7 separate regions of the Homo sapiens genome follow, and regions 2, 3, 4, 5, 6 and 7 are each linked to region 1. Evidence: promoter capture Hi-C in 16 types of primary human blood cells and fetal thymus (Javierre and others, 2016). All regions are on one chromosome and are shown on one strand. Each heading gives the region's core, a stretch centred on a gene start or on the middle of the fragment in contact. The rest is flanking DNA. Distances are from core to core; before and after follow the strand shown.

Region 1 (2,700 bases), core at 167-2,666:
CCCGCTCTTGAATCTATCTGAGGAAACGCAGCGAAGAAACAAGCAGCTGGAGTTTAATTCAATATCAAACTGATTATTTCACTAATTATTCTACCTTCTGTATTTGCCGCAGAGCAGAGGCGCAGGGAATCCTAACTGTGGGGCTGTTAGGGAAGCTTTGTTTCTTGGTGTCAGGCCTAACTGAAGATGGTGGTGAAGGGACGGAATCCGGGATCAGGAAAACTGAGCAGAAAGGATTTTAAATTGTGGGGAATAAAAGTGACTGTCTCCCCGAAAGCAGTTGTGTTGGCGTGAGTATGAAGTTGGTGTTAGCTCGCTTAGTTTCACTCTTGTCCTGTCCCCAGTACCCTGTCCAAGCTTCTGATTTAGAAGCTGAGAGCTTAGGTCCTCCAGGATGGCAATGTGCTCTGGCCGTCCCCGGAATCCCAAAAGCTTAGCGCGAGTTTCCTCTCTACAAACCTTTCCCACTGGGTAAAAGGATGGGAACAAACAAAAAGTGGTTCTGTGCGTTGAAGGCCAGGGAGTTTGCCTTCGACAAGAGGAAGGTGTGCTTTGAAGTTACAGCTTCCGACGAGGAAAGAGACTTCCTTGGGCCTGTCTCCAACTTGCCCCAGTTTCCCCAGCCTCCGGGACGGGCGCTTCCCTGCAAGCTATCAGCTTGAAGAGTCTTTCTCTCTCTGGCCTCTAAAATCTGCTCCAGCCATCTCATTCCTCCAGCGGAGGGCTGAGATGACTAATGCGCCAAGGGTGGACACCGCTATGGAGACCCCAAACTTTGTCCCCCTAAATTCCGGCGAAATTACAGACACCAGGATTGATTATCACAGCGGGACGCAGTCTCAAAAAAAAAAAAAAAAAAAAAAAAAAAAAAAGGAAAAGAAAGTCACAGGCGACTTGATCCAATTAGTAAATGCCTAATTGAATTAGTGTCACCTCCACCAGCCAATAGGAGGGTCTCCGGGCTGTGAGGCCGGGAAGCCCCTCCCTGGCCGCAAATATATAAAGCAGCTAGTGACAGCCCATAAGTTTCCAAGTGGTCAACTTGACCGATGCTTTGGCAATTGAAAAAGGGCAGAAAGGCGCGGGCTAGTGGGTGGATGGGGACAAAGATCTAAGTCACCTTCTTCCAGCGTGTGAGCCTGGGAGGAGGGTGGGGGTCCTGAGGAGCAAGAGGTACGAGGAAGGAAAAGGAGAGGGCTTCTGGGTTAGTTTCCACCTCCTGCTTTCCAACTCACGGCGCTTTCCTTCCGGAAAGGACGCTGGATTCAGGGCGCGCCAGTACGCGCAGTAGCGGCCCGCGAGTCGGCAGGTGGGTAGCCCCGGCGCGGGAGGAAGGGGAAGTTACCTTCCCCTCGGAAGAGGGCGCTGGCTCCCCCATCCTGCCTTTATAATAAGGCCACCGGAGGAGAGGAAGCAGCCAGCTGCCGTCTGCGCTTTGCAAAGCATGCAGTTAGGGGAGCAGCTCTTGGTGAGCTCAGTGAACCTGCCTGGCGCGCACTTCTACCCGCTGGAGAGTGCGCGAGGCGGCAGCGGCGGGAGCGCTGGCCACCTCCCCAGCGCGGCCCCCTCTCCTCAGAAGTTGGACTTAGACAAAGCGTCCAAGAAGTTTTCCGGCAGTCTCTCCTGCGAGGCGGTGAGCGGGGAGCCCGCAGCCGCCAGCGCAGGGGCCCCCGCGGCCATGCTTAGTGACACCGACGCCGGGGACGCATTTGCCAGCGCTGCGGCAGTGGCCAAGCCGGGGCCCCCGGACGGCCGCAAGGGCTCCCCCTGCGGGGAGGAGGAGCTGCCCTCCGCCGCTGCAGCCGCCGCCGCCGCCGCCGCCGCGGCTGCGGCCACTGCGCGCTACTCCATGGACAGCCTGAGCTCCGAGCGGTACTACCTCCAGTCCCCCGGTCCTCAGGGGTCGGAGCTGGCTGCGCCCTGCTCACTCTTCCCGTACCAGGCGGCGGCTGGGGCGCCCCACGGACCTGTGTACCCGGCTCCTAACGGGGCGCGCTACCCCTACGGCTCCATGCTGCCCCCCGGCGGCTTCCCCGCGGCTGTGTGCCCACCCGGGAGGGCGCAGTTCGGCCCAGGAGCCGGTGCGGGCAGTGGCGCGGGCGGTAGCAGCGGCGGGGGCGGCGGCCCGGGCACCTATCAGTACAGCCAGGGGGCTCCGCTCTACGGGCCGTACCCTGGAGCCGCAGCGGCGGGATCTTGCGGAGGACTGGGGGGCCTGGGGGTTCCAGGTTCTGGCTTCCGTGCCCACGTCTACCTGTGCAACCGGCCTCTGTGGCTCAAATTCCACCGCCACCAAACTGAGATGATCATTACGAAACAGGGCAGGTGAGCGCAGCGTGGAGGGGCCCCTGGGTTCGGGGATAAAGGGTGACGTGTGGTCCTGGGGAAGGTCCGGGATGAGGGAGCTGAACCCAGTTGTTCCGCGCGGTGCTTAGAGTGTTTCACCGCGCGCAATAAATCTCCGTAGACACCGCATCTCCAATGCGGTGTCCCTCTGTGTCAGTGCCCCGGCGGCTCTTGCAGGGTGCCAATGTTACGGCTGTACACCGCTTTTCCCTCCCATCATCCTCACCTGAACAGACCTGGAGGAGGCGGAAATGGAAATTAGGGCATGTCCACAAGCTGGATTCGTTAGATCCTCCTGCTCGGCGGTATGCTTGTGCATGCCTGCATGCCGGCAAGGAGCCACGGATAGGGAAG
Region 2 (2,700 bases), core at 49-2,548, 390 kb after region 1:
AGTTTATTCTTGCTTTGCTCTAGTTACCAGGGCAATGTTGCAGTATAACTTAAATTTTGTTAAACGTAAAATAAAATACATCTTGGTTTCATAATTTACTTTTTAAGATGTTGTTTCAATCTTTCCTCCTGCTCTTTAATATGAAATTTGGTATTATTTTGAAGTGGCTTTACTTAACTGGCCTCGTTCTGGTACTATCGTTCTAGAATAACCAGCATATGCCTCTTCCTTTGCCTGTAACTTTTGTGTAGGTAAACTTGTCCAAGGTACTCATTCTAGCTGGAATGAGTTGGAAGAAACCATTTAGTATGACCTTATTTGCAAAAAAATTAATTTACTTTTCTGAAAAGAATAAGTTAGTATCCTTATTATTTTATACCCCAGTTTCCTGAGATATCTGCTACAAATTTGAAGAATTTTGGAAATGAGTCTGTAGGAAGTCTAGGTGAGAAATGTTTCCACGATGTATAAGAGAAAACTTGTTGAATTAGGAGAAAACATCACAACGTTATTAGAAATTATCATAAAAAGTATTCTGAGAACATCATAGATACTTATAACCAAGAGGATTAATATAGTTATGTGTTTAGCTATCAGACAATTCGTTATCAATATCTGCTCCAGGACCTAGATCATGAAGCAAGTGACTCTTTTCCTTTCAAGCTTTACCTGGTCCTCAGCATTGACTATCCAGACTCCATCGCAGAGGGAGGTTAGATGAGAGGACCAGAAGTTAGGATGCAGGGACAATCTCTTCAGTGTTTTGAATAAGTTCTTGAAATAGATGAAGCTAATGAAGAGATGCTTTTTCTGTGAATTTATCTCTTCAGCCAGTACAGAGGCCAATAGAGACCTTTGAAGGTTCCTTATTGCCTAAGAAAGGAGAAGCCTGGTCACCTTGGTAAAGCCTGTCAGATAGTTCAGAACCTCCCTAGAGACAGATGTTCAAGTTAGCACCATAGACTGGGCACAGATAAAGTTTCATTAAGGCCTCAAAAGTCTTAGGTTTGTGTGTTTTTTTTTTTTGTTTTTTTTTTTTTGAGACAGAGTCTTACTTTATCACCCAGGCTGGAGTGCAGTGGCCTGATCTCAGCTCACTGCAACCTCCACTTCCCAAGTTTAAGCGATTCTCCCTGCCTCGGCCTCCCGAGTAGCTGGGATTACAGGTGCCTGCCACCACGATTGGCTAATTTTTGTATTTTTTAGTAGAGACAGGGTTTCGCCATGTTGGCCAGGCTGGTCTTGAACTCCTGACCTCAGGTGATCCGCCCACTTCGGCCTCCCAAAGTGCTGGGATTACAGGTGTGAGCCACTGCATCCAGCCAGGTTTGTGTCTTTAGGTACTAAAAAATGTTATAACGGCCTATTCCTTAGTTGGTTCACATAGTTCTTTGAGATCTTGTTCCTTCTTGGCCTCATCTCTTTATTCTGTCCAGTGTCTTTCCTGGACTCATTGAGGTCAGAGTGAAATTTCTGTTCCTATGAAAGTTATTCTTTTTGTCACCTCTGATCCTTTGACCGTGGTAGTCCTCTGCCTGAAGCACTCCGTCTCCACCTCTTTATAGTCTTTTATCCCCTGCTCGAGCCATTGACACTGGTTTTGTTAGGTGAACATTGAGGCTAAGATTGTTCATTTGGAATTTCTTTGCATTAAATTATTTTGATTGCTTTAAAAATTTTGGAAAACACAGAAAATTATAAAAACATGAAAACTTACTATTTATACCACCCTTAGAAACAGCTATATTAACTTTTGCTACATTTCCTTCTAATCTTTTAACAATTTTATGCTTTTTTCCTTCACTTATCTGATAGATTATTATGCACATACAAAACTACATTCTGCTTTTACCCAGAGTAGAACTTTTTAAACAGCTGGATCATTGTTTGAGAATGAAATTTGTCTTTTTTTCTCTCTTTTACTCAAAGCTTCACAACCTTAAACATAGACATGAAGCAAATAAGCTTTAACAACCTAAGATCTCATGTAGTCCTCAAGCAAATGATGATTTCCCTTCTTCCCATCACCTAACTTGGAGCAAATATCTAGCTCTTATATTATTATTTCTCATGCAATATTATCTAGGGTATTTTAGGTAAATGTGTACACACATGTACACACACACACAGGCACAGTCAGCCCTTGATATCCAAGGGTTCTGCATCATCAGATTCAACCAACTGCAGATTAAAAAATATTCAGGAAAAACAATAAAAAACACAACAATAAAAAGTACTTACATAGCATTTATGTCATATTAGGTATTATGAGTAATCTAAGATGATTTATAGTACATGTGAGAATATGTGTAGGTTCTGTGGATTTTGGTAACCGTGGGTGTCCTGGAACTCCTGAGGATACCAAGGGATGACTATATATACCAAAAAAGTCATGAAATTATAGAGGTAGAATGGACTCTGAAGAAAACCTTCTTAAGCCTCATTTGATAGATGTGGGAGATGAGCAGGTAAGGTCCAAGGTCCTGAGACAAAGCCATGGCTGGTACTCTTTTCTCTAATGCCTCACGGATTCCCTTGTTCTTTACTAATCAATGCACATTTAAAATTTGTTTTAGGTGTGCACCAGGGAAAAGTATCACTTTGGTAACCAGACTTACTGCTTCTTGTGTAGCTCATTCACTTGGCTGTCAATAGGCATGAAGTGAAAATGTTCCTACCTTCCCAGGAAAGAACTGGTTG
Region 3 (2,700 bases), core at 195-2,694, 320 kb before region 1:
TTTGGTTTTTTTTTATGCTTTTAATGTAGTGTTTGAAGTGATGTTATTTCTTTTCAACCTTCTTTCATTTTATAGTAGTAATTTGTGTCTTGATTTCTTTTTCTTTTATCAGTTTTATTAGAGGTTCATTAGTTTTGTTGATGACTTTCTCCATTGTATTGCTCTTATAAATTTCATTGATTTCTACTCTTATTTTTCATATTCCTTTTCTTTTGCTCATGTCAGGTTTAATTTGTCCTTTTTTAGTTTCTTAAAGTGAAATCTTAGATCATTAATTTGTGAACTTTTTCCTAATATAAGAATAATATAAAGATTTTTATGTTACAAATTTCCCTCTAAGCACTGCTTTGGAAACTTTACATACATTTTATGTTATGTATTCATACTAGTTCAGTAAAAAATATTTTCTAATTTCTTTTTGACTTCCTCTGTGACTCACTGGTTATTTAGAAGTATGATGTTTAATTTCTGAATATTTGCAGAATTTCCACATATCTTTTTTTATTGATTTCTAAGTTAATTCTGTCCTGGGTAGACAAAATCTTTCGTATGATTTGATTATTTTAAAATTGTTAAGGTTTGTATTACGACTCAGAATATGGTCTATCTTGGTGAGTGTTTAATTTGCACATGGAAAGAATGTGGATTCTGCTGTTATTGGGTGGAGTGTTAGGTAAATATCAATTAGGTTAAGTATGTTGGTAGTGACGCTTGGGTCTTCTATACACTTGCTGATTCTCTCTTACATATTCTACCAATTGATGAGAGAGCAGCATTAAGCTCTCCAAGTACAATTGTAGATTTGCCTATTTTTCTTCTCAGCTCTAAAACATTTGCTTCATAAATTTAGAAACTCAGTTGTTAGGTGCATACACATTTAGGATTGTTATGTCTTCTTGGAAAACTGAATCCTTTATCATTATGGTCCTCTTTATCTCTGATAATATCTTCCTTTTGAAGTCGATGTTGTCTGATATTATTATAGCCGCTCCAGACTTCTTTTTATTAGTGTTGTTGCATATCTTTTTTCCCTCCTTTTATTTTCAACCTATTTAAGTCTTTATATCTAAAGTGTTTCTTGTAGATAGCATATGGATATTTTATGTTCTCATCCAATCTGATAATTTTCATATTTTAATTAGTACAGGTAAATGATTTAAGTTTAATATAATTATGAATAGGATTGTATTAAACTGTACTATTTTACTAGGTATTTTCCATTTGTTTCCTCTTCTGTCTTTTTTTTTTTTTTTACTTCTTTTTCTACTTAGTTTTGGATTAAGTTTTTTTATGATTCTAGTTTATCTCCACTGTTGGATTTTTATTTATGCCTCTTTTTAAAGTATTTTACTGGTTGTCTTAGGATTTGCAATATACATTTACTGGTACAAAAGCAGGCACATAGACCAATGGAACAGAATAAAGAACCCAGAATAAAGGCACTCACCTACAGCATCTGATCTTTGACAAAGTTGACAAAAATAAGCAATGGGGAAAGGACTCCCTATTTAGTAAGTGGTATTGGGATAGCTGGCTGGCTGCTACATGCAGAAGAATGAAACTAAATCCCCACCTTTCACCATATGTAAAACTTAACTCAAGATGGACAAAAGACTTAAATATAAGACCTCAAACTATAAGAATCCTAGAAGAAAACATCATTCTGGACATTGTCCTTGGGAAAGAATGCATGATTAAGTCCTCAAAAGCAATTGCAACAAAAACAAAAATTGACAAGTGAGACCTAATTAAACTAAAGCACTCTGTAAAGCAAAAGAAGCCATCAACAGAGTAAACAGAACCTACAGAATGAGAAAAAATATTTGCAACCTATACAATTGACAAAGATTTGATGTCCAGAATCTATCAGGAAGTTAAACAATGCAACAAGCAAAACACAAATAACTCCATAAAAAAATAGACAAAAGATATGAACAGACAATTCTCAAAAGAAGACATATAAGCGGCCAACAAGCATATGAAAAAATGCTCAGCAACACGAATCATCAGAGAAATGCAAATCAAAACCACAATGAAATATCATCTCACACGCGTCAGAATGGCTATTATTAAAAAATCAAAAAACAGATTCTGGTGAGGCTGCAGAGAAAAGGAGCTGCCTATGCACTGTCAGTGGAAATATAAATTAGTTCAGCCACTGCGGAAAACTGTTTGGAGATTTCTCAAAGAACTTAAAACTACTATTTGACCCAGCAACCCCATTACTGGATATGTATCAAAAAGAAAATAAATTGTTCTACCAAAAGACACATACTTATATGTTCATCACAGCACTACTAGTAATAGCAAAGACATGGAATCAACCTAGGTACTCATCAACGGTTTACTGTATAAGGAAGATGTGGTACATATACACAAATACCGCACAGCCATAAAAATGAATGGAACCATGTCCTTTGTAACAACATGGATACAGCTGGAGGTAATTATCCTAAGGAAATTAATGCAGGAACAGAAAAACAAATATTGCATGGTCTTGCTTTAAGTGGGATCTACATGCTAGGTACTTATGAACATAAAGATGGCAAAAATAGACATTGGGGACTTATAGGAAGGGGAAGGAGGGGAGGGACATAAGGGTTGAAAAACTAACTGTTGGGTATTATGCTCACTATCTGGGCGATGTGATCTTTAGAAGCCAACCCTCCGCATCATGCAATATACCCATGTAGCAAACCT
Region 4 (2,700 bases), core at 185-2,684, 340 kb before region 1:
TCTTTGATGATAATAAAGAACAATATTCACTATCTCTTTAATAGCTTTTCCTTAAGTTGAATAGCATTAATTTCCCCTTAAACTCTCTTTCATCTTCAAAAATATGTTTGATGCTTTTGATAGTCTGAAAAATAGGTCCTTGAAAAGGAAAAAATGGTTATATTTACTAGATACCTTTGAAAGTCCTCACATCTGAGAATAAGTCTTACCTGTGTCACTTACTATATGCTAAATAATTATAACAATAATAATGGATAATTCATATATTGCCCATATTTGTATTTTAAGTGCTTTATATGTAAGTCTCACAATAACCCCTTGAGACAGGTACTTGAGCAACATAATTATTCTACCCATTCCCAGCTGATGACACTGTCTGTGTGGAGTTTGCACATCTGCTCCATGTCTGTGTGGGTTTTCTCTGGGTACTCCGGTTTCCTTTCACATCCCAAGTATGTGCACATTAGATAACGGGATGTCTCGGTTGCCCCTGCCTGAGTGGACATGGGTGTGTGCAAGTGTGCCCTGCAAGGGAATGCCATCCTGTCCAGAGTGGGGGTTCCTTCGTTGAGCCCTGCGCTGCTGGGATAGGCTCCACCTGCCTATGACCCTGAACTGAAATAATTGGGCAAATAATTATCTTATTCATTTTTATTAATCTTTCTTGAATGTATGTATATCTCACATTTATCTCAATGTTTAATATTAGAAGTGTTATCTAGATGATGGGTTAATGGGTACAGCAAACCACCATGGCACATGTATACCTATGTAACAAACCTGCACGTCCTGCACAAGCATCCTAGAACTTAAAGTAAAATAAAATAAAAAATATATATTAGAAGTGTTTTTATCTTTTTTATTAACCTTAAATCTGGGATACATGTGCAGCACGTGCAGGTTTGTTACACAGGTATACATGTGCCACGGTGGTTTTCTGCACCCATCAACCCATCATCTACATTAGGTATTTCTCCTAATGCTACCCCGCCCCTAGCCCCCCACCCCCGAGAGGCCACAGTGTGTGATGTTCCCCTCCCTGTGTCCATGTGTTCTCACTGTTCAACTACCACTTATGAGTGAGAACATGTGGCATTTGGTTTTCTATTCTTGTGTTAGTTTGCTGAGAATGATAGTTTCCAGCATCATCCACGTCCCTGCAAAGGACATGAACTCATCCTTTTTATGGCTGCATAGTATGCCATGGTGTATATGTGCCACATTTTCTTTATCCAGTCTATCATTGATGGGCATTTGGGTTGGTTCCAAGTCTTTGCTATTGTGAACAGTGCCACAATAAACATAAGTCTGCATGTGTCTTTATAGTAGAATGATTTATAATCCTTTGGGTATATATCCGGTGATGGAATTGCTAGGTCTAATGGTATTTCTGGTTCTAGATCCTTAAGGAATTGCCACCTGTCTTCCACAATGGTTGAACTAATTTACACTCCTACCAAAAACGTAAAAGCATTTCTATTTTATTTATTTATTTTTATTATTATAAGTTTTAGGGTACATGTGCACATTGTGCAGGTTAGTTACATATGTATACATGTGACATGCTGGTGAGCTGCACCCACTAACTTGTCATCTAGCATTAGGTATATCTCCCAATGCTATCCCTCCCCACTCCCCCCCACCTGACAACAGTCCCCAGAGTGTGATATTCCCCTTCCTGTATCCATGTGATCTCATTGTTCAATTCCCACCAATGAGTGAGAATATGTGGTGTTTGGTTTTTTGTTCTTGCGATAGTTTACTGAGAATGATGATTTCCAATTTCATCCATGTCCCTACAAAGGACATGAACTCATCATTTTTTATGGCTGCATAGTATTCCATGGTATATATGTGCCACATTTTCTTAATCCAGTCTATCATTGGTGGACATTTGGGTTAGTTCCAAGTCTTTGCTATTGTGAATAATGCCTCAATAAACATATGTGTGCATGTGTCTTTATAGAAGCATGATTTATAGTCCTTTGGGTATATACCCAGTAATGGGATGGCTGGGTCAAATGGTATTTCTAGTACTGGATCCCTGAGGAATCCAGTCGCCACACTGACTTCCACAATGGTTGAACTAGTTTACAGTCCCACCAACAGTGTAAAAGTGTTCCTATTTCTCCATATCCTCTCCAGCACCTGTTGTTTCCTGACTTTTTAATGATTGCCATTCTAACTGGTGTGAGATGGTATCTCATTGTGGTTTTGATTTGCATTTCTCTGATGGCCAGTGATGGTGAGCATTTTTTCATGTGTTTTTTGGCTGCATAAATGTCTTCTTTTGAGAAGTGTCTGTTCATGTCCTTCGCCCACTTTTTGATGGGGTTGTTTGTTTTTTTCTTGTGAATTTGTTTGAGTTCATTGTAGATTCTGGATATTAGCCCTTTGTCAGATGAGTAGGTTGCGAAACTTTTCTCCCATTTTGTAGGTTGCCTGTTCACTCTGATGGTAGTTTCTTTTGCTGTGCAGAAGCTCTTTAGTTTAATTAGATCCCATTTGTCAATTTTGTCTTTTGTTGCCATTGCTTTTGGTGTTTTAGACATGAAGTCCTTGCCCATGCCTATGTCCTGAATGGTAATGCCTAGGTTTTCTTCTAGGGTTTTTATGGTGTTAGGTCTAACATTTAAGTCTTTAATCCATCTTGAATTGATTTTTGTGTAAGGTGTAAGGAAGGGATCCAGTTTCAGCTTT
Region 5 (2,700 bases), core at 35-2,534, 280 kb before region 1:
TCTAATAGTCACCAAGTTTTGGCCAATCACAGGCAGTCAACTGTTCAAACCATCTTCAAATAAGGCAAACGCCAAGCTGTAACCAATCCAGCTATTTCTGTACCTTACTTCTATTTTCCATATGTTGCTTTCCTTTCTGTGTTCACAAATATTATCTGACCATGTGGCAGCCCTGGAGTCCTTTTGAACCTATTCTGGTTCCAGAGGCTGCACAACTTGTGAATCATTTTTTGCTCAATTAAACTCTGTTAAATTTAATTTTTCTGAAGTTTTCATTTTAACAGGGCAAAAGGCAAAGTGTTGGCAAGGCCAGTTTCTTCTGGAGATTCTGAGAAAAGAATCTGTTTTCTTGCTTTGTCCAACTTTTGGAGGCCCTCTACACTCCTCAGTTCATGACTCCTTCCTTCTCTTCAAAGCACATCATACCAGTCTCTGCTTCCATTGTCACATGGCCTTCTCTATCTCTAGCTCTACTGCTTCCCTCTACCAGGACCTTTGTGATTACATTGGGCTCACCTGGATCATTCAGGATCATCTCTTTATCTCAAGATCCTTAAATTACATATTTAAAGTCCCTTTTGCCATATAAAATACATATTCATAGGTCCCAGGAATGAGGACACAGACATTTTGGGGAGGCCCATTATTCAGCCTACCACACCCTTCTACTAAGGTGATTATATGTATTTTCTTATTTGAAAGTTGTTATGATTCAGTAAACTATATTGACAAATTTTTCTTCTTTTTTTTTTCTTTTTTTTTTGAGACAGAGTTTTGCTCTTTCACCCAGGCTGGAGTGCAGTGGCATGATCTCGGCTCACTGCAACCTCTGCCTTCCAGTTTCAAGCAATTCTCCTGCCTCAGCCTCCCGAGTAGCTGGGATTACAGGCACCCACCAGCACGCCTGGCTAATTTTTGTATTTTTAGTAGAGAGAGGGTTTCACCATATTGGCGAGGATGGTCTCAAACTCCTGACCTTGTGACCCGCCCACCTCAGCCTCCCAAAGTGCCAGGATTACAGACGTGAGCCACTGGGACTGGTGACAAATTTTTCCTATATTAAACCATCTTTGCATTCCTGGGATAGACTTTGGTTATGGCAGGTGTATTACTCAGAGTTCTCCAGAGAGACAGAACCAACAGAATACATATCCATAGATATAGAAGATGAGATTTCATATAGTTTGGATGTTGCCCCCTCTAAATCTCATGCTGAATTATAATCCCTAATGTTGAAGGTGGGGCCTGGTGGGAGGTGTTTGGGTTATGGCAGTAGATCCCTCATGGCTTGGTGCTGTCCTTAAGATAGTGAGTGAGTTCTTGTGATATCTGGTTGTTTAAAAGTATGTGGCATCTCCTCCGGAACTCTCTATCTTACTCCTTCTTTTGCAATGTGATATACTGACACCCCCTTTGCCTTCCACCATGAGTAAAAGCTCCCTGAGGTTCCCCAAGAGGCCTAGCAGATGTCAGCACCATGCTTCCTGTACAGCTTACAGAACCATGAGACAATTAAACCTTTTTTAAAAAATAAATTACCCAGTTTCTGGTATTCCTTTATAGCAACACAAGAATGGCTTAACACAAGATTTGTTAGGGCAATTGGCTCATGTGATTATGGAGGCTGAGAAGTCCAAATATAGGCCATCTGCATGTGAAAGAAACAGGGAAGTTGATAGTACGGCTTGGTCCAAGCCCAAAGGCTTCACAACCAGGGAAGCCAATAATGTAAGTCTCATTCTGAGGCTAACAGCCTGAGAACCTTGGGGGCCTGCTAGTGCAAGTCCTAGAGTCCAAAGGCCATAGAACCCGAAGTTCTGATGTCCAAGATTAGTTGAAGAAAAGTGTCCCAGCTGTAGAATACAGTGAATGAATTTGCCTTTCCTCTGCCTTTTTGTTCTATCTGAACCCTCAATGGGTTGGATAGTGCCTGCCCAGACTGGATAAGGGCAGATCTTTCTTACTCAGCCCATTGATTCAAATGCCAATCCCTTGCAGAAACATTTCCACAGACATACCCAGAAATAATGTTTTACAAGCTATGTGGCTATTCCTTAACCCAGTCAATTTGACACCTAAAAGGAACCATCAGAGTGAGTTAGTCTTTTTATATGCAACATTAATGCTTTTTTTATGGTATTATTATGGTTTATTCTATATTCATACCTGATATTAGTCAACTGTGTGTGTTTTGCTTACCTAGGTTTGGTAACTGAGTTAACCTGATATTGCAAATGGTCAGGTAATAAAAACTCAGCTCACATTAGCTGAAGTGAGAGGGAGTTTTCTTCACTTATATTGCTAGAAAAGATACTGGACTATCTGAGAAAACTGAAGGAAAAGTTGAAGGAATCAGGCCGCAGGGATTGCAAGTAGTAACCTGTGAACCCCAGAACTTTCTGTGAACCCCAGAACTTTCTCTGATTCTCTGTCTTTCTCTCCCTCCAGCTGTCACTTGTATTTTGTATTAGGATAGACAGGCTCTCTCTGTGTGACAGAAAACATGGCTAACAACAGACCAGCTGAAACAAATCCAGAGTAAAGAGGACCTTCTTTCCCAGCAATGAATGTGGGAGATGCCTCATCTAAGGTCATGTCCCTTCCCAGGGTGACCCATATCCAAAGACTGATTGATGTGGAAGTAAAATCTTTGAATTGTGTCATCCCAACTTAGGGCTGCTCTAGCCTCAGAGCTCCTGT
Region 6 (2,700 bases), core at 25-2,524, 370 kb after region 1:
AATATGTCACAGATACTCATCAGAGGAGACCCCACTTAGGAGAGCACATCTGACCTGAAACCCAAAGGATATGGAGAAGCCAGTGTGAGATTATGGGAAAAGAACAGCAAGCAGGCAGAAAGTGCTTAAGGCAAGAATATAGTTGGCATGTTCATGGGCACAAATGGTCTTAGTCTGTTTTGTGCTGCTATGATAGAATACTACAGACTGGGGTATTTATTTATTAGTTTATTTTTAAGAGACAGGATCTTGTGCCGTTGCTCAGGCTGGAACGCAGTAACACCATGAGGGCTCACTGCAGCCTCAACCTCCTGGGCTCAAGCAATCCTCTTGCCTCAGCTTCTTGAAGCTTGCACTACAGGTACACACCACCACACTTGGCTTATTTTTAAATTTTTTGTAGAGATGGAGTCTTGGTATGTTGCCCAGGGTGGTTTCAAACTCTTGACCTTCAAGTGATCCTCCCACTTCAGCCTCTGAAGGTGTTAGGAATACAGGTATGAGCCTTCATGCCTGGCAGACTAGGTAATTTATAAAGAACAGTTCTGGAGGCTGGGAAGTCCAAGATCAAGGTGCTAGTAGGCTTGGTGTCTGGTAAGTGCCCAGTCCCTGCTTCCAAGATGGAGGCTTGAATGCTGTTTTCTCTGGGAGTCACACTTTTTCTTACATGGCAGAAGAGCAAAGAGAGAGAACTCATTCCTGAAAGCCCTTTGTAAAATGCACTAAACCCACTCATGAGGACAGACTCTTGGCTCAATTATCTCTCAAAGGTCCTACCTTTTAATACTGTTTTAGTGGCAATTAAATTTCAACATGAATTTTGGAGAGGATAGACATTCAAACCATAGCATTTGGCATGTTCGTGGGTTCATGTTTCTCTCTAGAAAGCCAACATGGCTGAAGTGGAGGAAGCAAGAGGGAGAGGGGAGGAGGCAAGCTCAGAGCAGTGAAAGTCATGGTTGGAAGCCAAGTCCAATAGAAGGCCACAGGAAGGTTGTAAGCCACAGAGTGGTATGATCTGATTTACATTTTAAAGCATTCCCTGGGGTTCCTGAGGATGTAGAGGAGCAAGAGTGGAAGCAGAGAGACTCTTGAGGGGGTTGTGGCAGTCATCCAGGCAGAGAAGATGGTGGCTTGGAGTAGGGTGATAGTAGGAGTGGAAAGAAGGGAAAGCTAACTAGTTTTGCTGGTGGCTTGAATATGGGAGGTAGAGGAAAGAGAGGAGCCAAGAATGTCCCCTGAACTTTTGTCTAGAGAGCCATTGTGGTACCAGTTACCAAGATGAGGAGCACTAGGGGCATTTGTTACTAGGGGGTGGGGGTCAAGAGTTCTGTTTAGGGTATGTTAAATTTGGGATGCTCATTAGGCATCCATATAGTGACTTTGTGAATTTAGGAGGTCAGAATGGGGTTAGGGCTGAACATATAAATTTATAATTGCTGATGGTATGTAAAACCATGGGACTGCAAGAGATCCTTGGGAGAGGGGGCAGATAGAGAAGGGAGGAGGACCAAGGACTGAGCTGCTAGGACATGAGATCATAACAACATCTGGCGAGGTCAAGCAAAGAAAGAGGGAAATTCAACTCAGTAGTTGGAAGCTAATGCAGCAGGCGCTGCTTAGTTTGTATCCATAGCAAAGATCCTTTACCTTCATTACCCACAGCTCTTCCACATGGAGTCGTTGATTTTAGTGGATATATGTGGGCACTCTGCCCAGAGCCTCTCCCATTCCTTGGGACTGTGTGTCCTCGTATTGGCTTCAATGTTCTGCTTTAACAGCTAGATTCTGTATGTCTTTTTGAGAGGACTGCCTCTAAGTGACTTGGAGTCACTACCACAAGAGAGGAGTGCCTGGGGAGTTATGACTGAAGGCTACAGGAATATGAGAGCCAGGCTCTCACTTCTCTCAGTTTAGACAACTCTGAGGACTAATCTACACTGCAGCATTCCTCCATGGGCTTAGACCAAAGCTACCCTCTAGAGAGCTTTTGTGTTAGCACCCTTGCCTGACCTCTGTTGGGAATGCTTTCTTAATACATTGTCTGCCTTTGGGCAACTTAACATATGAACTGCCCTTCCTTCCCCCATCTCCCATTTTGTATTATAGTGTAGACATTAGTATAATGTAATCATTTTTGTTAATTTAAAATGGGATTAGGTTAACTATTTTAAAGCATTCCCAACTTCTCAAAGCTTTTTTTCAGAATATCTCCATTTAAGCAGCCATTAAATGGAAAGGATTTTGTTTTTTATCCTAAAGACAATTATCTGTTTCTGCTGATACTGGTGAATTTGTTTACTGTTTAGTTAAGTGCAACATTTCCAAAGAGTCATTTATATTCAGCCTTCCAGCTCACAGAGTACATGCTGATCTCAAACAGATATAACGATTAGATCATTATTTCCTGTTCACATACTTGTTCAATACAATTATGGAAATTAAGCAAGAGAATAAGACAGGGTGTTTAGCGAGTTTGATAGTGGTAAACGCGATCCCCTTCTAGCAGAAGAAGCCTGTGAGCTTCTCCATAGGCTCTCCTGTGCTTGTCATTGCGGCTTCTATTTTCTGCTTCTAAACTATAGTCTGTAGCTATAGTTTGAGCAGGAATTCGAAGCCAACAGCAGGACAGTGTGGCTATGTAGAGTATTTCTTCTGTATTTGAGGGAAGAGTAAAGTTAGATTCTATTTATTTTGAAT
Region 7 (2,700 bases), core at 73-2,572, 300 kb before region 1:
TGTCCATATCACTATCAGTATTTTGGGCAAAGCCATTCAATAAGTCTCTAGAAAGTTCCAAACTTTCCCATATTTTCCTGGCTTCTTCTGAGCCTTCCAAACTGTTCCAACCTCTGTTTGTTACCCAGTTCAAAAGTTGCTTCCACATTTTGGGTTATCTTTTCAGTACTCTACTGGTACCAATTTATTGTATTAGTCTGTTTTCATGGTGCTGATAAAGACATACCCAAGACTGGGAAGAAAAAGAGGTTTAATTGGACTTACAGTTCCACATAGCTAGGGAGGCCTCAGAATCATGGCAGGAGGTGAAAGGCACTTCTTACATGGCAGCAGCAAGAGAAAATGAGAAAGATGCAAAAGTGGAAACCCCTGATAAACCCATCAGATCTCGAGACTTATTCACTACCATGAGAACAGTAAAGGGGGAAACCACCCCCATGATTCAAATTATCTCCCACCGGGTCCCTCCCACAACATGTGGGAATTATGGAAATATAATTCAAGATGAGATTTGGGTGGGGACACAGAGCCAAACCGTTATCAGTGGTCAAGAGGTACAAAGTTTCAGTTATGCAAGATAATAAAGCTCTGGAGATTCTGGAGATGTGATGTACAACAACGTGACACTATAGTTAACAATATTGTACTGTATATTTGAAATTTGCTAAGAAGGTAGATATTAAGTGGTCTCAACACACACACACACCAATATAACTATGTGAGGTGATGGATATGTTAATTAGCTTGATTGTGGTGAATATTTCACAATGTATACACATACCAATTCATCCAGTTGTATAATTTAAATATATACAATTTTTAACTGGCAGTTATACATCAGTGAAGTTGAAAAAAAGTGGTGAAGCAACAGGTATAAACAATGGCAGCTGAAGCCAAGACTATGCGTCTGAGTTGGTCTGAAGAAGAGGAAGTGGAGGCAATGCCATGAGTCATAAGAAGCAGGTCATTGATTTCCTTAGCAAATATTTATTGAGCACTTGCTAAGGTGCCACACACAGCTTCAGGTCTGGAGAAAAGACAGTAAAAAAAGTAGGCAGAGTCCCATCTCACGGAGCTGACATTCCTGGAGAGTGATTAAGGCAATGAAGAGGTAAACAAATACAGAAAATAATATTAGATTAATGACGAGGGCTATAAAGAAAACAAAGCAGGGAAAAATGATAGTGTGACCTCCAGGGGTGGGGCAGTGGTAGAGGGGCACTATGGATTGGTGTGGTCAGGGAAGGACTCTCTGAAGAGAGGAGATTTCAGCTGAGTCCTGAGTGACACAAAGAAATAAGCACAGGGAGGCTCAGTAGAAAGAACATTCCACACAGAAGGCCCAGCAAACACAAAGGCCCTGAAGAGGGGTGAGCATCGTGCACACTCAAAAGAAAGAAAGAGGGGCAGTGTGACTGGAACACAGAGAGCAAGAAGAGTGCTACAGAATGAAATAACAATGGTAGTAAGGGGAAAATCACCCAGGCTTCGTAGGTCAAAGCGAAGAAAACTCAGGGTCTTATCCTGAGTGAAATGGGAAGCTGTTGTAAGCAGGAAAGTGACATGAGGGGACTTATGTTTGAAGTAGATCATTTGATGAAGAACAGAGTGTAAGGAAGGCAAGAATGGAAGCAGGAGAACAGGGAGGCCACTGACACTTTAATGTCCAGGTGAGTGAGGAAGAGGTTGCACAAGGGCAGGGTAGTGGGGATAGAGAGAAGCAGAGGTTGGTGTATAGGGGGCACCTTTTAGCAGTTTGCTATGGGCAGGGCTCTCTAAGGAGGAAAGGGCTTTAGCAAATATTCAAATACCTGTTGCTTTTCACATTTTTTCCCCAAAGTTATTGAGGTATAGTTGACAGTTAAAAATTGTACATATTTAAGTTATACAACTGATGAATTGATATGTGTATCTGTTGTGAAATCTTCACCACAATCAAGCTAATTAACACATCTCCCACTTCACATAGTTACCTTTTGTGTATGTGTGTTGAGAATACTTAAGATCTACCTTCTTAGCAAACTTCAAGTATATAGTACAATATTGTTAACTACTGTCACATTGTTGTGTATTAGGTCTCCAGAACTTCATTATCTTGCACAACTGAATAGACCACAGGGAAAAAAATAAATAAATAAACCAATAAAAAGACTCAATTTCAATTTCTGTTGAGAAAGCAGTAGAGAAATGCTCACTCTCATGCATTACACAATGGTACAAACCCTGCAGAGGATAGGGCTTCCTGATGGATTAGATGTAGGAAGAGGATAGATACAAAAATAAAAAATGATGTCTAAACTTTTAGCTTGAGCAACTGGATGGTTTATGATGTTATTGACTGAGATGGAGAAGACCACACAAAGAACAGGTAAGAGAATAAATGGGTAAACAGGGGATCAATTCCAATCCAGTTAGTTTAAGTTCGATTTTAGATGTGTTATATTTGAGATCCCTATTACACAGTCAAGTGACCATACCAACAGGAAATTGTATATGCAGGTTTAGAGCACAAGGCTAGAGAAGTATATTTTGAACTCAGCAGATTAGCTACGGTATCAAAATCATGGCCTAAATGTCCTTCTACATGCTTGCTACCTCCAAAACCCTCTACAGTGTACCTGAGATAGACCATAGTGGTTCTCAAACTGTGAGGCTCATAAGAATCACTGGGAGAGACTTAAAAAAATCTATATTCTTAGG

Evidence for each region. Contacts are between HindIII fragments. The CHiCAGO score rates a contact against its expected background, and 5 or more counts as called.
Region 2: a contact is called between a fragment that was not itself captured here and the fragment with the promoter of EOMES in region 1, in 5 of 17 cell types (M1 macrophages, M0 macrophages, fetal thymus and 2 more). The highest score is 6.2, in M1 macrophages.
Region 3: a contact is called between a fragment that was not itself captured here and the fragment with the promoter of EOMES in region 1, in 6 of 17 cell types (naive CD8 T cells, total CD8 T cells, total CD4 T cells and 3 more). The highest score is 9.3, in naive CD8 T cells.
Region 4: a fragment that was not itself captured here is called in contact with the fragment with the promoter of EOMES in region 1 in 6 of 17 cell types (activated CD4 T cells, total CD4 T cells, naive CD8 T cells and 3 more); the score reaches 11.6 in activated CD4 T cells.
Region 5: a contact is called between a fragment that was not itself captured here and the fragment with the promoter of EOMES in region 1, in 6 of 17 cell types (total CD8 T cells, naive CD8 T cells, non-activated CD4 T cells and 3 more). The highest score is 10.8, in total CD8 T cells.
Region 6: a contact is called between a fragment that was not itself captured here and the fragment with the promoter of EOMES in region 1, in 1 of 17 cell types (total CD8 T cells). The highest score is 5.5, in total CD8 T cells.
Region 7: a fragment that was not itself captured here is called in contact with the fragment with the promoter of EOMES in region 1 in 6 of 17 cell types (naive CD8 T cells, activated CD4 T cells, non-activated CD4 T cells and 3 more); the score reaches 14.0 in naive CD8 T cells.

What each region holds. Positions count from the first base shown.
Region 1 is chr3:27,721,039-27,723,738 of GRCh38, reverse strand. EOMES (eomesodermin) reads left to right here and starts at 1,416. Exons shown (of 6, transcript NM_001278182.2): 1 at 1,416-2,325. The coding sequence starts at 1,445. RefSeq lists a silencer at 1,781-1,990. The HindIII fragment of the contact is 2,734 bases long and covers 435-2,700 here.
Region 2 is chr3:27,329,578-27,332,277 of GRCh38, reverse strand. The region is part of intron 5 of NEK10 (NIMA related kinase 10); the gene reads left to right. Among named protein-coding and RNA genes, the nearest start is that of NEK10, 38 kb to the left of the region's middle. The HindIII fragment of the contact is 1,266 bases long and covers 666-1,931 here.
Region 3 is chr3:28,044,403-28,047,102 of GRCh38, reverse strand. No RefSeq gene overlaps it. Among named protein-coding and RNA genes, the nearest start is that of LINC01967, 17 kb to the right of the region's middle. The HindIII fragment of the contact is 5,132 bases long and covers 1-2,700 here.
Region 4 is chr3:28,064,055-28,066,754 of GRCh38, reverse strand. No RefSeq gene overlaps it. Among named protein-coding and RNA genes, the nearest start is that of LINC01967, 37 kb to the right of the region's middle. The HindIII fragment of the contact is 4,860 bases long and covers 1-2,700 here.
Region 5 is chr3:28,001,772-28,004,471 of GRCh38, reverse strand. No RefSeq gene overlaps it. Among named protein-coding and RNA genes, the nearest start is that of LINC01967, 25 kb to the left of the region's middle. The HindIII fragment of the contact is 5,809 bases long and covers 1-2,700 here.
Region 6 is chr3:27,354,048-27,356,747 of GRCh38, reverse strand. All of the region lies in intron 1 of NEK10 (NIMA related kinase 10), which reads left to right. Among named protein-coding and RNA genes, the nearest start is that of NEK10, 14 kb to the left of the region's middle. The HindIII fragment of the contact is 1,846 bases long and covers 352-2,197 here.
Region 7 is chr3:28,021,385-28,024,084 of GRCh38, reverse strand. The region is part of intron 1 of LINC01967 (long intergenic non-protein coding RNA 1967); the gene reads left to right. Among named protein-coding and RNA genes, the nearest start is that of LINC01967, 5.9 kb to the left of the region's middle. The HindIII fragment of the contact is 8,805 bases long and covers 1-2,700 here.